Linked DNA regions of Homo sapiens: region 1 is linked to region 2. The links are contacts of gene promoters, found by promoter capture Hi-C in blood cells and fetal thymus (Javierre and others, 2016). All regions are on one chromosome and are shown on one strand. Each heading gives the region's core, a stretch centred on a gene start or on the middle of the fragment in contact. The rest is flanking DNA. Distances are from core to core; before and after follow the strand shown. Region 1 has its middle 6.0 kb from the start of AKAP11. Region 2 holds the start of MTRF1 (mitochondrial translation release factor 1).

Region 1 (7,479 bases), core at 4,907-7,406, 1.0 Mb after region 2:
TCTGTATATTTTGTATATCATTGTATTCCACTACTTCCATTTTTTGACCTAGAGTTGTTAGAAGTCATGAGTCAAGGAAAGTAGAACCTTGTGTTCACCAAAATGAATGAATAAACAGAGGGCAGGATTCATGACAATTTTCTATAACATGTAAGTCATTTGAAACACACTTCTGTCTGAGGGCAAGCAGAGGGTTTGCTAGATCTCTTAATATATTATTGCCATTCCTGGGTGAGAAATGAGAAGGTCCAGTAGAAGCTGGATCATAGGAGAAAACACTATAGTATTACAAAACCCAGTCCCCAATGGAGGTGGTAAATTAGATTACTGAGAACAAGGAGAGGAAACATTTGCCATGTTCTGGCAGAAGGGGCTGGAATATAGATTCTGTATGGTGTCTAAGAATCAAGCATCATTTCTGTAGAGAGGGCTCTCTGTTTGTAGGATGGCATCATCCAGTCATATCTTAATGAGGGGATGCTGTAGCAGACAGCTGCACTGACCATGTAGCTAGAGACCAGGCAGAAATGTGGGTACTTCAGTGGAGGCTGATGTGGAAAGGTAGTAATGATCAAGAAACAGATAGCATAGTATACATTTCAGTGGACTTCAGTGGAGGACTTTATTCCTTCCTGGAACTTAGGTGAGAATTCTTAGAATTACATAAAGAGTAAAATGAGCAAGAAGTGTTCACAATAATTTTTTTAAAGTTACAAAAATATAGACTAATATTAAACTTCGAAGAGCATAGGGTTTGACACTGAAACCCAAGTAGCACCTTATAAATGTTGGCTTCTCTTTCACAGAAAAGAAATGCCGTTTCCTCAAACCATACATGAAAATTAGTATGATATTTTATCAGACCTTATTTTACTGCAGATATTACTTTCATCCGGAGTTTATATGCAATTTCAGAATAGCTACTGACCATCTAAAAAGGATAGAAAAAGTACAGGCCATTATACTATTAAGCTAGAGCTCTGTAGGAATCTTAATATACCCATTATAGTAAGCTTATAGGCATACTGTTTGAAGATAACAAAATCATTGTAAGATTATTACACCAACTGATAAGGATACTAACCTGCACAATCAAATGTGAGTAAGGACACACTTAAACAGGAAGAATGGTAAAATCAGTTTAGAGATAAAGAGCAGAATATGACAAATTATACATTTATAATATAAATTTATGAATTATAAATTTGGGCTCTACAAAGGGAATTTTCTAAATAAATTACAAAAGTGCCAAGAAATTTGACACCCATTGTTTATAAAGATAACCCATCTATTTGAAAAATAATGGTAATTATTATTTTTCCCCCTCACATTGAACAAAAATCTGTCCTCTTCCTCTGGAAGGACAGAGGAAGCCTCAGATAGTTCTCAGACATTAGCATTTCAACCTCAGTTTACTATATCCCTCTGAGTCTCCCCTTCTTCAGGTTAAATACCAACAAGATAAGTTTCACATATGAGATATTCCCTTAGGCTCCTCACCTCTGGTCATATTTCACTATGGCTAATGCAGGTGCATACTGACTAGTTAGAGTACAGTAGGACTAGCACCTCTTTTGTCTTGAGCATCACACTAGCATTCATGTAGCCTAAAGTTGCATTTGCCATGTTTTGGTAGCTGCATCCTTCCGATGAAGAAGATTGGACTAACCATAAAGGGTTGCAGGCCAGTAAACCAATAAATCAGAAATGGTTGGCTACTTTGATGTTCATGAAGATTGGCTATCAAGAAATCCTAGTCTATCTTTCAGAAGCTTAGCTGATTTCACATATTCCATTGTGGTGAAGGGGAACAAATGTGTTCAAGATGACTTTGGGCAATCCAAAATAAATTGGGATCAAATCTAGTAAGGGGACAGACTGGATATCTCTAACGTAGTTTAGTGGCTTAAAATTGCAAATAGAGCAAGGATTTCCTACAGCCTGGGCTAGGAGGCATTTGGGGGTCTTAAAAGTTCTACCACTTTTCAACCTAGATTTTTACCCCAGTGTTTAATGACTTTCTGTACCGTATGTAAGCATGTATTAATAATATTCATGTTTCATATGCATGACTATTACCTCCTTTAAAGATCTAATCACGTAAGGATATTTCTGTTAAATTTCATGTGAGCTAACTAATGAATAAGGATGCTCTGACTGACACTTTGAATTAATGTTTCATTTTTCAAGCAAAGCAGCTAAGCAACAGGAATGACAGACCCAGAAATAACTTGTTCTAAGATCTGTTTTATCTTGTCATAAAGTTAGGACAATATTCCAAAAGCTGACCTTGTCCTTTAGATATATAATCCAGGGGAAGTCATCTAACATCTTTTTTAAAGCAGTAAGCATGTATGCTATTGGCTCACATGAAGAGGAAGTCTATCTCACTTTTTGCAAAAGACATTTTTTAAAAGTTGTGTATAAATTTTATATGGTAAATTAAACTATTATTTACTTATGCTAAATGCTTTTGAAATGCTTGATAACATTCATGCTTCTTTGAACTTGTAATGTCTGTAACATAAGCTTTTTATAATACCTTGCACTTCTAATTTAACTATAAACCAGTCATGTAAAATCAGCAGAGCAATGATATTTAAATAAACTCTTTTATCTTATCAACTAGTTACATTTAGGCATAATTACTTGTTTTTGAACTTTGGACAAGTATATATTACATTTTCTTAAAAGAAGGTACATCTATGTTTTACATATTAGAAGTATTATAATTCAGTAATTAGCTATGATTTAAATCAGAAGAATCATTATATTTGAGTAAAATATATAGTAGGACTCAGATTGATTTTGCTGTTCAAGAAGTGTTTAATTTGGATTGGCACTTCTGAATTATCATTTGTACTATATTTACTAATTAGTATAGTTAGGATTCTATGATTTTAGCATTGAACAGTTAATGAGTGCCACCGTGTATTAAAATATCACTAGGTATAATTTTAACAGTGGTTAAGATGTGTCTCTATCCTTATAAAGACACTCGCTACAAAAGAATTAGGTAAGTGCTGTGAAATTAAATCATTTAAACTTAAAGCTGTTGGAACTTTACATTATTCTGTGCCTTGAGAGGAACATGGCTCTGCAGCCTGAGTCACACGGCATGCAGTTGCAACTTCTGCTCTTTTTTTTCTGTAAATAATTAGTAAGATCAAAAGGCACCAGATATAAGACCCTCTCAGATCACTACTCTTACTCACAGAGTAATAAAGTCATCTTCCTTGGAATGTAGCAATCTATAACCAATCAAATTGCTGTAATACACTGGTCTCCTGTGGAAAATGTGATAATCCTGCTAAAATTTCTCTCTCTGAGACTATGTAAGTGAAACCTTAACTTCTCCACTTTGGAATACTGACCCCATTCATCTGGAATTGTTGTTCCCAGGTTGTCATCCTCAAGCTTTATGCTCAAATAAACTCCATACTGAATCATATTTTCTGAATCTCATTAAGGTTGACAGTATGTACATTATAAAGTATATAGTAGACTGTGATATAATATATAGGCATTCAAACCGAAGGCATAAAAGAGGTATTTCACCTCTTGAACTTAAAAAGCACCTTTACATATTTAAACAGCTGATGAAACTGTAATTTCCACATTTTTCCCCTTTCAGAATGTTTTATTAATACATTGGTTTATTAAGTATTAACAAATTTGGCTGGATGCAGTGTCTCACGCCTATAATCCCAGCTCTTTGGGAGGCTTGAGCCCAGGAGTTCAAGACCAGCCTGGGCAACATAGCAAGACTCTGTATCTACAAAAAATTTTAAAAAATAGCCAGATGCAGTAGTGCGCACCTGTAGTCCTAGCTACACTGGAGGTAAGTGGGGAGGATCACTTGAGCCTAGGAGCTCAAGACTACACTGAGCTATGGTCACTGCACTACAGTTTGGGTGACAGAGACTCTGTCTCCAAACAAACACAAAATAATAATAAGTTAAATAATACATGTAAAGCAACCATCAAATAACTGGTCTGCTCCATTATTTTTTCTTGTATTTTCTAATGTTCTATATAACGTGTGTATTAATTCATAATCATAAAAAACAAAGTCCTAAAACTGAACAATGTAGAAAAGAAGGACTTGACATCTCACTTTTACAAGTGAGCCACCAGCTGGGACCATCACTCAGGCAGGAAATATCACTCAGGCAGGAATTCAGCAAGTGGGCCAAAGGGAGACTCAAGTTTTCAAACAGGAAGCGATATGGAATCTGCTCTTGGCTGTCAGAGGCTGCTACTGTAAAGCTCCAAAGCTCCTGGGGAAAGATGATGCCTGCCTTTGTAGTCAGAAGGTCACCAAGGGTATTAAGCTGAGAGGCTAGCTTTGTGTATTAGGCTTAGTTTTGTTGAAAGGTAGGACCAGACCGAACTAGCTAATTTTAGTCTGAACTATTCCATTTAGTGCCCCATGTGATCCAGAATAAATCATTCAACCTTGCTGGGTCATAATTCTTTCATGTGCCTATAACCCAAATGTCTTGTTTCTATTACAGTATGTCTAAAAATGAAAGAAATATTTCCATTAACTTAGAAAATTACAGTGGAGGAGACACCACCAATTTGATTGCTGGAAATTGGCCCACTAAAATGTCCCTAGGAGACACACAGGGGTTCCCAGGCACCCTCTTGGGTGCCCTTGGACACAGGCTGTGTTCCCTGACTTGCCACCCTGCTGCCCTGGCTCCTTTGTACACCACTGGTCTCTCCTCTCCCTACCCCGTTTCTGTGAGGAGTATGAGCAGGGGACACCTGTTTTCTCCCTGCTGCAACATCCCAAGCATGGGACATGCCTTGACATTCATTTCCCTTAACATAGCACAGATTTGGCTTATAGCATTTATCAGGACTTTACTGAGGACTCCTGACAATACAAATTAAAGAGAATAAAGAATAGTCTGGTAAGACACCCTCCTTCCCCGCTTCTCTTTTTTTGAATAGTTATTGAGTACCTACTATGTGCCTTAGGAACTCCTAAGCAAAAACAGAAACAGCCCTTGCTCATGGATCTCACAGTTCAGTGGAGGAGGGAGACAGACATTAACTAGGTAACCACACAAATAAAAATTGTTATAAGTTGATAAATGCGTTGAAGAAAAAGTAGGGAGTCCTAAGTAAAGGGGATTTACTTAGTCTGGGGAGTTAGGACGAAAGTTCCTGAGGAAGTGACAGTAGAGTTGAAAGGTGAAGGATTCTTGGGCATTCAGCTGTTAACAGGGATGGACAGAGAAAGAATATTGGATCCTGAAGAAACAGCCTGTGGAAGGTGATGAGGCAGGCAGGGTCTGGTCCTATTTTGAGGAACTGAAAAGGGGACAGTCTGAAAGGGAGAATGATATGAAAGCAAAGGAGAAAAGCAGATTATGAGGAAAACCATGAGAAGCCACTGAAGGATTGTAAGCAGGGGAATGGCATGGTCAGATGCAGTAGAAATGGCAGCCCTCTGGAGATAGAGTGCACATACTTCAACCAGCAGGCAAAAAAGACAAATCCTGGAAGCAAAGGAACGGTGCTAGGAGGAGAAATATGAACTCTGTAAATGGGATAAATAGAACGTCTTCTATTTTTTAGAGTATTAAAAAGAATCAGCAACATCCACACAAAATTTGTATAGGAATATTCAAAGCAGTATTATTCATAATAGCCAAAAAGTAGAAACAACTGAATTGTCTGTCAACTGATAAGTTGGCCAATAAAACTGTGCTATATACATAGAATGGAACTGTTATTCGGCAATAAAAAATAAATGAAGTACTGATACACGCTTCAACATGGATGATCCTTTAACACATGCTAAATGAACGAAGTGAGACCCAAGAGACCATGTATTGTATGACTCCATTTATATGAACTGTCCAGAATAGGCAAGTCTTTTTTATTTTTTATTTTATTTTTATTATACTTTAAGTTCTAAGGTACATGTGCACAACATGTTACAGAGGTATACATGTGCCATGTTGGTTTGCTGCACCCATCAACTTGTCATTTACATTAGGTATTTCTCCTAATGCTATCCCTCCCCCAGCCCCCCAACCCCCTACAGGCCCCGGTGTGCGATGTTCCCCGCCTTGTGTCCTGTGTCCATGTGTTCTCATTGTTCAACTCCCATCTATGAGTGAGAACATGCGGTGTTTGGTTTTCTGTCCTTGTGATAGTTTGCTTAGAATGATGGTTTCCACCTTCAGAATAGGCAAGTCTTTATAGACATAAAGTTGATTGGCTGCTACTGAGTATGTGAGTTTCTTTTAGGGAGGAACAAAACTTCTAAAATTAGATTTTGATGACAGTTGCACAACTGTAAATCTACCAGAAGCACTGAATTGTATGGTAAATGGATTACATCTCAGTAAAACTGTTAAAAAACACAGTTTTAAAAAGAATCCAGGAACTGGGGACACAGCAGAACTGGATCTCAATCCTAATTTTTTCTCACTTTGTATTAATGTACTGCAAATAATTGTAGCTAGCACAAGAGAGCACAATGACTGTCTTGCTAAGGTGAGTTGGGAGGATTTATTTCGGGCTCTGTTAATACATGTTCGATTGGGAGAGTTGGGCCCAGAGTTCATCTAAATTAGTAGTACCAAGCAGCTGTTTCAGTTAATCATTATGAGGGCTGTAAACACTCAAAAAATACTCAATTAACATTTTAAAAGAATGGTCCTACTTTGTTAAAATAGTACTTTTTCTCTTTTTGGCGTTTTTCCTTTTAAAAAGTAGCCCTATGTATCTTGAAATCTTGCTTTCGTTAAAATTAAGGTGTTAGCTTAACTTTAGGATATTGCCTCAGACCTTTTAAAAAATGTATTTGCTATCTAGTTCTTAAACTCTGATTAGGAACACATGAATCATTATTTAATACTACACAGGTTCAAAATAGCTTAAGAGAGATGGAATTCGAGGTTGAGCAGGTGGCGGTGTTTCCGTTTTCACACTCTGAGAAGGCCAAGGTTTCTTAGGGAAGCATTCCTGGTATCTGTATCAACCGTTTTCAGAGTTATTCAGCTGGTGTGTGTGTGTCTAATTTCATTTGGGTTGAGCCGCTGACTCTGTTAGGTTTTCATAAAAAATCATTTCATTTCCCTTTCCAGCTTCCGTCCTACTGGTATGTGCATGTTAAAGTGTAATTCAGGCTTAACTACTTTAGGTGTAGGCTAGTTACATTGCTTTGTTTTATGTATGAGGAAGCTGAGACTCAGTGGTGATAAGGAACCTTGATTTGGTTGTATCACTAATGACAGAGCTTCGAGTTGGAACTCATCTCCTGATTCGTTTCTTTTGGTGAAACATCCTCTTGATTTCTGAGCTTTCAACCTCTATCTTTTCAAATCTTACACTAAAGAATAAGTATCTGCGTAGAATTTCATTTTCTGTTCCCAGAATTGACTTTAAGAATAGACAGAAGAGGTGGTTGTCAGTGTAGCATAATGGAGGGAAAAAAATTAAAGATGGGCCCTT
Region 2 (7,480 bases), core at 62-2,561:
GGGAGGCGAAGGTTGCAGTGAACTGAGATCGCACCACTGCAACCAGCGTGGGCGACAAAGCAACACGCTGTCTCAAAAAAAAAAAAAAAAAAAGAAACATACCAAAATGTTAATAAAATGATCTCTAGTTGTGAGATTATGAATACCTTTTGCTTGCTATTTTTTCTACTTTTCAGTGTTTTCCAAGTTTCTTGCACATGTAGCATGGAATACTTTCCTAATCATAAAAAAAGATTAGTTTAAAAAATTACAGGTTAGGTGAAATTGGCTGTGTACAATAATTTTCTGTTCTCCTCCCCTCCAACAGAGATAATCAAGAGCTAACAAAAGTACACAATGGTCTTACTGAGTAAGAAAGGGAGAATATAAAGTGTTCTAAGAAAACTCTAAGGTTCAAAGTTGAAATAAGGGTCAAGCCACGCACAGTAGCATGCACCTATTGTCCCAGCTACCCAGGAGACTGAGGCAGGAGGATCACTTGAGCCAAGGAGTTCAAGGCCAGCCTGGGCAACACAGTGAGACTCAACTCAAAAAAAGAAGGATCAACATTTATCAAAATCAAACTTTACTGTCTCCAGTGATCCTACTATGCTAGGAGGTGCATTGATATATTAGCTCATTTGTTCACTATAAGTCTGTTAACTTAGCATTATCACCTAGGAAATAAAATAGTCAGAATGGTCTTTAAAATATTCAGTTTCCAGAGTTCTACTGATAGATTTTAGGATACTGCATCACATTATTAAAAGAACTGTTGAAGAAAGCACCAATGGCCAGCTGTCACAAACGTTACACTCCACCACCCCCGTATTTCAAGCACGTTAGAGAAAGTGTATCCATTTGCTAACAGACAGAATAAAAGGATGACAAATATATGTTTGTACGAATACTTATTGCTAAAATTTCCATTTTAGGAACAGTAGTAGAATGCATAATTTTCAAGGTCATGAATCTCAACATTAAGGAAAACAAAACAAAACAAGATGTTTACTCTCCAAGGTTAACTACACCTGAGAACAGCACGACTTCTCCATTACCCATCACAGTAACAGTATTACTCTGATGCTTTGGGGAAAGTTCTGAGTGTAGGCAGGTCAGAAGCGACAGCCCGCGGGGCAGCAGCACGGGCAAACCATGCTGTGTAACTCAGTATATGGAGTGATTCCATAAAGAGGCAATACAGGAGGCGGCGGGGAAGATCAGGAAAGAACTGTGAGTACCTAAGAAAAAGAAGAATACACGTTAGCTCTCTTTACTGAGGTCGGAACCTTCCGAGACCCGCCACATTTCAGCCCGACAAACCCGAGATCACGTTCACTTCCTGGTTCACTTCTTCCGGGTTAACGCACGCTCCCGGCCCCTCCTCCGCCACTACCGCTCTCCGGAGGAGTTGTCCTCGAGCATGCCTAACAATGGACTAAAATGACAAAAATGAGCTAAATGAGAAAAATGACAAAACGAGAATGAAATTGTCATCAGACAACCGCCCCCGCGCCGTCCTTATCCAGAGCGTGAGCCCAGAGCGGGGATGGAGATGGTGGGAGGGAGGGAGGGAGGGAGGGGCCAAGGTGGGACTAAACTACAACTCCCAGAGCGCCCACCAAAGAATCCTGGGAGTTGTAGTTTACCTTGCGGCAGCCTCCAACCCCCTCCACTCACTATCCAGCCAAATGTGGAGTTTTTGGTTTTCACCGTTAACTGCAAACCTAGAAGAGAGATTCTTTACGATTCTGATTAAGAGATCAAGATTTAGAACACATTGCATGTGAAATTACAATAATTTCCTTATGTATTAGAAGCCCGTAAAGCACTGTTTTCCAATATTTAAAAAAAATAAAGACTCCTTTTACATCATCCACAAATGTAGAAGATTCTGCGTGTAATTTCTATACTTTCAGCTTCCATTGCTTCAGAAAATACCTAATGACTAAAGGATAATACAAATAAATTTATATTTTAAAAGTAGTAACAGCCCCAAAAGTTAGGAGACCGTGTATTTCCACATGTTAGTGATTTTATAATGTTCTTTGCACATGGGAATGTAGGGGCTCAACCTAGATTCATAGCTTATGAACCACTGATTAAGTGAAGAATGAAAACTCCAGTTAATAAACAATTGCAGGAAAATGCAAGCATATTGTCCTACTTTGACTAATCCAGTGGGATCCAGCCCTTGGCTATCGCAATTTACAGTCTTTCTATCTCCATGCCTCAATTTTTCTTCCTGAAAGAAAAGGCAAAAAATGTACCATATTACTGACTTTACAGAGTATTTTCTTAGATTATAATCACATACATAGATAGGAGAATTAGCTATATATGCAAAATAATATCTAACGTTTATAGCCAACTTCAAGGTACCTACTTCTATGTACTATGTACTAAATACTGTTCTAAATGGTTTTACCCTATTAATTCATTTAATTTTTACAACCTTAAAATACTTATTTTGCAGAGGAGAAAATTAAGGCACACAGAGCTAAAGTAACTACTCCAAGGTAAAAAACAGTAAGTGATAGAGCCAAGACTCAATTAAGGCAATGGCTTTAATGATCTGTGGCTCCTAAGCTCTGATATAGGGCCACCCTGCTCCAAAAAAGAAAAAACCTTCAATCATGTATTCAATAAATAGTGAACACCAGTTATGTGCTATTCACTATTCTAGTCATGAGGATTTAGCAATGAACAGAAAAGACAAAAACCTTTGCCCACATGGAGCTTATGTTCCAGTAGGGGAAAAGTTTCAAAGGGTCTACATAAAGTCATTCTCCTAAGTTATCCAAAAAGTTCTTTAATTATTTATTCTGATTTGTGCTTTCAGCTATATAACTTGAGTATTATATATAAAGCTTTATTCTCCTTAAAAAATTAGTCTTAGTCGGGCGTGGTGGTTCACGCCTGTAATCCTAGCACTTTGGGAGGCCGAGCCAGGTGGATCACCTGAGGTCAGGAGTTCGAAACCAGCCTGACCAACATGGAGAAACCCCATCTCTACTAAAAATACAAAATTAGCTGGGCGTGGTGGCTCATGCTTGTAATCCTAGCTACTCGGAGGCTGAGGCAGGAGAATCGCTTGAACCCAGGAGACAGAGGTGGCAGTGAGCCAAGATTGCACCATTGCACTCCAGCCTGGGCAACAAGAGTGAAACTCCGTCTCAAAAAAAAAAAAAAGTAGTCTTACTGCTATGGACTGAATTGTTTATATTCATAATCATGTGCATATTACTAATATTTATTTTTAAAATTCATATATTGAAGCCCTAACCCCTCCAATACATGTGTCTGTATTGGAGATAGGGCCTTTAAGGTGATTAAGGTCAGATGAGGTCGTAAGAGTAGAGCCCTGACATAATAGGATTAGTGCCTTTCTAAAAAGGCACCAGAGATCTTGCTCACTGTCCCTGCCCAAACAAAGAAGAGGTTACGTGAGTACACTGTGAGATGGTGGCCACCTACAAGCCAAGAGAAGAGGTATCAGACTGAAACCTACATTGCTGCCACCTTGATGTTAGACTTCCCAATCTCGCAAGAGGCTAAGAAACAAATTTCTGTTGTTTAGGCCACCCAGCTGGTGGTTTTTTGTTTTTTTGTTTTTTTGTTTTTTGAGGTGGAGTCTCGCTCTGTCACCAGGCTGGAGTGCAGTGGCCTGATCTTGGCTCACTGCAACTTCTGTCTCCCGGATTCAAGCAATTCTCCTGCCTCATCCTCCCAAGTAGCTGGGACTACAGGTGCACACCACCACGCCCAGCTAATTTTTGTATTTTTAGTAGAGATGGGGTTTCACCATGTTGGCCAGATGGTCTCAATCTCTTGACCTTGTGATCTGCCCACCTCAGCCTCCCAAAGTCCTGGGATTACAGGCATGAGCCACCACACCTGGCTTTTATTTTTTTTTAAATAGAGATGGGGGTCTCACTATGTTGACTAGGCTGGTCTCAAACTCCCAGCCTCCTAAAATCCTGGGATTACAGGTGTGAGCTACTGCACCTGGCCCAGTCTATGGTTTTTTGTTATGGCAGCCAAGTTATTCTGACTATGCAGAACAACTTAGACATTTAGAACTCGGGCTGGGCGTGGTGGCTCACGCCTGTAACCCCAGCACCTTGGGAGGCCAAGGCGGGTGGATCACTTGAGGCCAGGAGTTTGAGACCACCCTAGTCAACACGGTGAAACCCTATCTCTGCTAAAAATGCAAAAATTAGCCAAGCACAGTGGCACGCACCTGTAATCCCAGCTACTCAGGAGGCTGAGACATGAGACTCACTTGAACCTGGGAAGTAGAGGCTGCAGTGAGCTATGGTGCCACCTCACCCCAGCCTGGGTGACAGAGCAACATGCTATCTCAAAAACAAAAACAAAACAAAAAACAGTGAGACTTTATCTCTTAAGAAAATTACAGCTTTTTAATATTATCTAATGTCCAGTCAGTGTTCAAATTTCCCTGTGATGCCGGGCGCAGTGGCTCACGCCTGTAATCCCATCACTTTGGGAGCCGAGGTGGGTGGATCACGAGGTCAGGAGATCGAGACCATCCTGGCTAACACGGTGAAACCCCATCTCTTCTAAAAAAATACAAAAAAATTAGCCGGGCGTGGTGGCAGGCGCCTGTAGTCCCAGCTACTTGGGAGGCTGAGGCAGGAGAATGGTGTGAACCTGGGAGGCAGAGTTTGCAGTGAGCTGAGATCAGGGGCCACTGCACTCCAGCCTGGCCAACAGAGCGAGACTCTGTCTCAAAAAAAAAAAAAAAAAAAAACAAATTTCCCTGTGTCAGATTTTTTTTCTCTTTTTTGTGGCATTTTGTTTGTTAATATCAGGATTCAAATAAAGTACATAGATTGCAATTGGTTGTTATATTGTTGGTTTATTTTAATCTTTAGATTCTCCTTTTCTTCTTTTTTTTTCCTTGCAATGTATTTGTTGAAGAAACTGGATCCTTAGCCCTGAGGAGTTTCACACAGTTAAGATTTTTCTAGACTTGTGGTATATAATGTGTCCTTTGTTCCCTGTATCTCCTGTAAACTGGTCTAGAAACTTGATCAAATTCAGGTTTAAATTGTTTTTGGCAAAACTACTTCATAGCTGTGGTTATGCTCTGTGGTTATGTGTACTTTGCTTATGGGAGTCTCTTAAAAGTTATGTCTTTTAAAATATTAGAAGCTCTTCATTGCCTAGATCCATTTTTTCACTAGGTGTGGCAAAATGGTGATATTTTATTACTCATTCTTCATTGATTAGCTAGAACCTCTCAGCTATTGATTGTCTTTGCTTTGTCATTTTTAAAAGGAAAAATAAAAACTTTTCTAAAGTAAAAAAGTGATAAAAAGCCAGGCGCTGTGGCTCACACCTGTAATCCCAGCACTTTAGGGAGCCAAGGTGGGAAGATTGCTTGAACTCAGGAGTTTGAGACCAGCCTAGGCAACATGGCAAGACCTCACCTCTACAAATAAAAAAATTAGCCAGGTGTGGTTCTGTGTGCCTCTGGTCCCAGCTACTTTGGAGGCTGAAATGGGAAGACCACTTCAGCCTGGGAGGTCAAGGTTGTACTGAGCTGTGATTCACCACTGCATTCCAGCCTGGGTGACAGAGTGAGAAACTGTTGAAAAAAAAAAATGGCGATCAAATTAAAAAGCTTGCTTTCTGAACAATTTCTAGGATTTCTAATTTTTATTTTAATCTTATTATTATTATTTGTATTTTTGTAAAGAAGGGGTTTCATCATGTTGCCCAGCATCTTCAAACCGGTTGGCATCAGCTATTCCACTGAAATTCAGGCTCTGAAAACCATATTAAGCAATTCTTAAACAAATTTCTTATTATTCTAACATCAGAGATCCTATCTATAAGAGCAATGGGGATGTAAATTAATCCTTAAACAAAAGCCTTATAATTCTAACATCAGAAATGCTATTGATTCAGGAATTAAGAAGAAATCACTTAGGCAGATAGTAATGGTATGGGAGTAACCACACACCATTTCATATTTGACAATGCTTCCTGTGTAATTTTTATACCAAATAAGCCAAATTATGTCATTTTTGGACTTTAGGGAAACCAATATCTTAAAGGATTAATTAGATCAAAAAAAGACTTAATTTATAATTTGATTTTAGAAAGTTTGTCAAATATCGAAGGTTTAAAAACATTTGATATCACAGATCATCGTAAGTCATTCTCGGGAGGCTGAGGAAGGAGAATTACTTGAACCTGGGAGGTGAAGATTGCAGCAAGCTGAGATCACGTCACTGCACTCTAGCCTGGGTGACAGAGCAAGACTCTGTCTCAAAAAAAAATGAAAGAAAAGAAAAAGAAAACATTTCCTTTAGACCTTTAAGAAAACATTTTAGCATCAGGCTACAACAAACAGAACTCAAGGGGAAACAAAACTTATATGAGCTGAAAATGAATTGAAGAAGAGTGTTCCTATTTCACGTCCTTTAAAAGGGGAGAGAAAACCAAAAACAAGATGCAATAAAAGTTGAACTTTCTGTTAAGAAAACTATAATCTCCTGTAATTTATTGAGTAAATCAATCCCTTAAGAAAATTAATATTATTGTTCTAATTATTTAGTGTATAAGTGTTTTCTTTTTTTACATCAAGCCCAATCCCTGGAGAGACCATTATAATTTCTCATTAATTTTAGATAACTTGATCATATAAAAGTTTTCAGTTTTTTTCTTATAAATCCTATTCTTGTGACTTACACAGACCATTCATGACATGCTTGGACTTTCTGGTTTGACGTGACCATCCCTTTTTTTTTTTTTTTAAAACCAGTCATTTTAGTCTAGAACTAAATTTACCATACAAGATTGTTTCTTATATAAAATTATTTCTCTTTAAGCTTTCTTACCAAAAACAAAACCTCTTTATTTTTATAACTTCCTTTACATCTCTCTTATTTCCTGGTTCCTTTTACCTTGTTTTTTTTTTTTGGTTTTTTTTTTTTTTTTTGAGATGGAGTTTTACTCTTTTCACCTAGACTGGAGTGCAATGGCTTGATCTCGGCTCACTGCAACCTCTGCCTCTCGAGTTCAAGCAATTTTCCTGCCTCAGCTTCCCAAGTAGCTGGGATTACAGGTGTGCGCCACCACACCCAGGTAATTTTTGTATTTTTAGTAGAGACAGGGTTTCACCATGTTGGCCAGGCTGGTCTTGAATTCCTGACCATGTGATCTGCCTGCCTTGGCTTCCCAAAGTACTGGGATTACAGGAATGAGCAACCACGCCCAGCCCTTTTACCTTATTTTGTACAAAACCTTTAAATAAGCTTTCAATTAGACAAAAATTGTTCACTTTTTTAAAAAGGACACACTTTATTATTAGAATGTTTTCCTACAATATATTTTTGTTAGAAAATACCCAAATAACAAAATATCTATTATTTAATTTAATATAATTTTATATTCTAAATTATGAGTTTTTCTACATTTATCCCATTACATTTACCTAATTATTTTATTTTAATCATTTACCTATTTT

Evidence for each region. The method cuts DNA at HindIII sites, captures the fragments that hold promoters and counts their contacts. A CHiCAGO score of 5 or more calls a contact.
Region 1: a contact is called between a fragment that was not itself captured here and the fragment with the promoter of MTRF1 in region 2, in 1 of 17 cell types (fetal thymus). The highest score is 5.0, in fetal thymus.

The regions. Positions count from the first base shown.
Region 1 is chr13:42,262,440-42,269,918 of GRCh38, forward strand. No RefSeq gene overlaps it. Among named protein-coding and RNA genes, the nearest start is that of AKAP11, 6.0 kb to the right of the region's middle. The HindIII fragment of the contact is 5,483 bases long and covers 3,416-7,479 here.
Region 2 is chr13:41,262,265-41,269,744 of GRCh38, forward strand. MTRF1 (mitochondrial translation release factor 1) reads right to left here and starts at 1,312. Exons shown (of 10, transcript NM_004294.4): 1 at 1,221-1,312. RefSeq lists an enhancer at 730-1,230 and a silencer at 1,518-1,607. The HindIII fragment of the contact is 4,724 bases long and covers 1-2,847 here.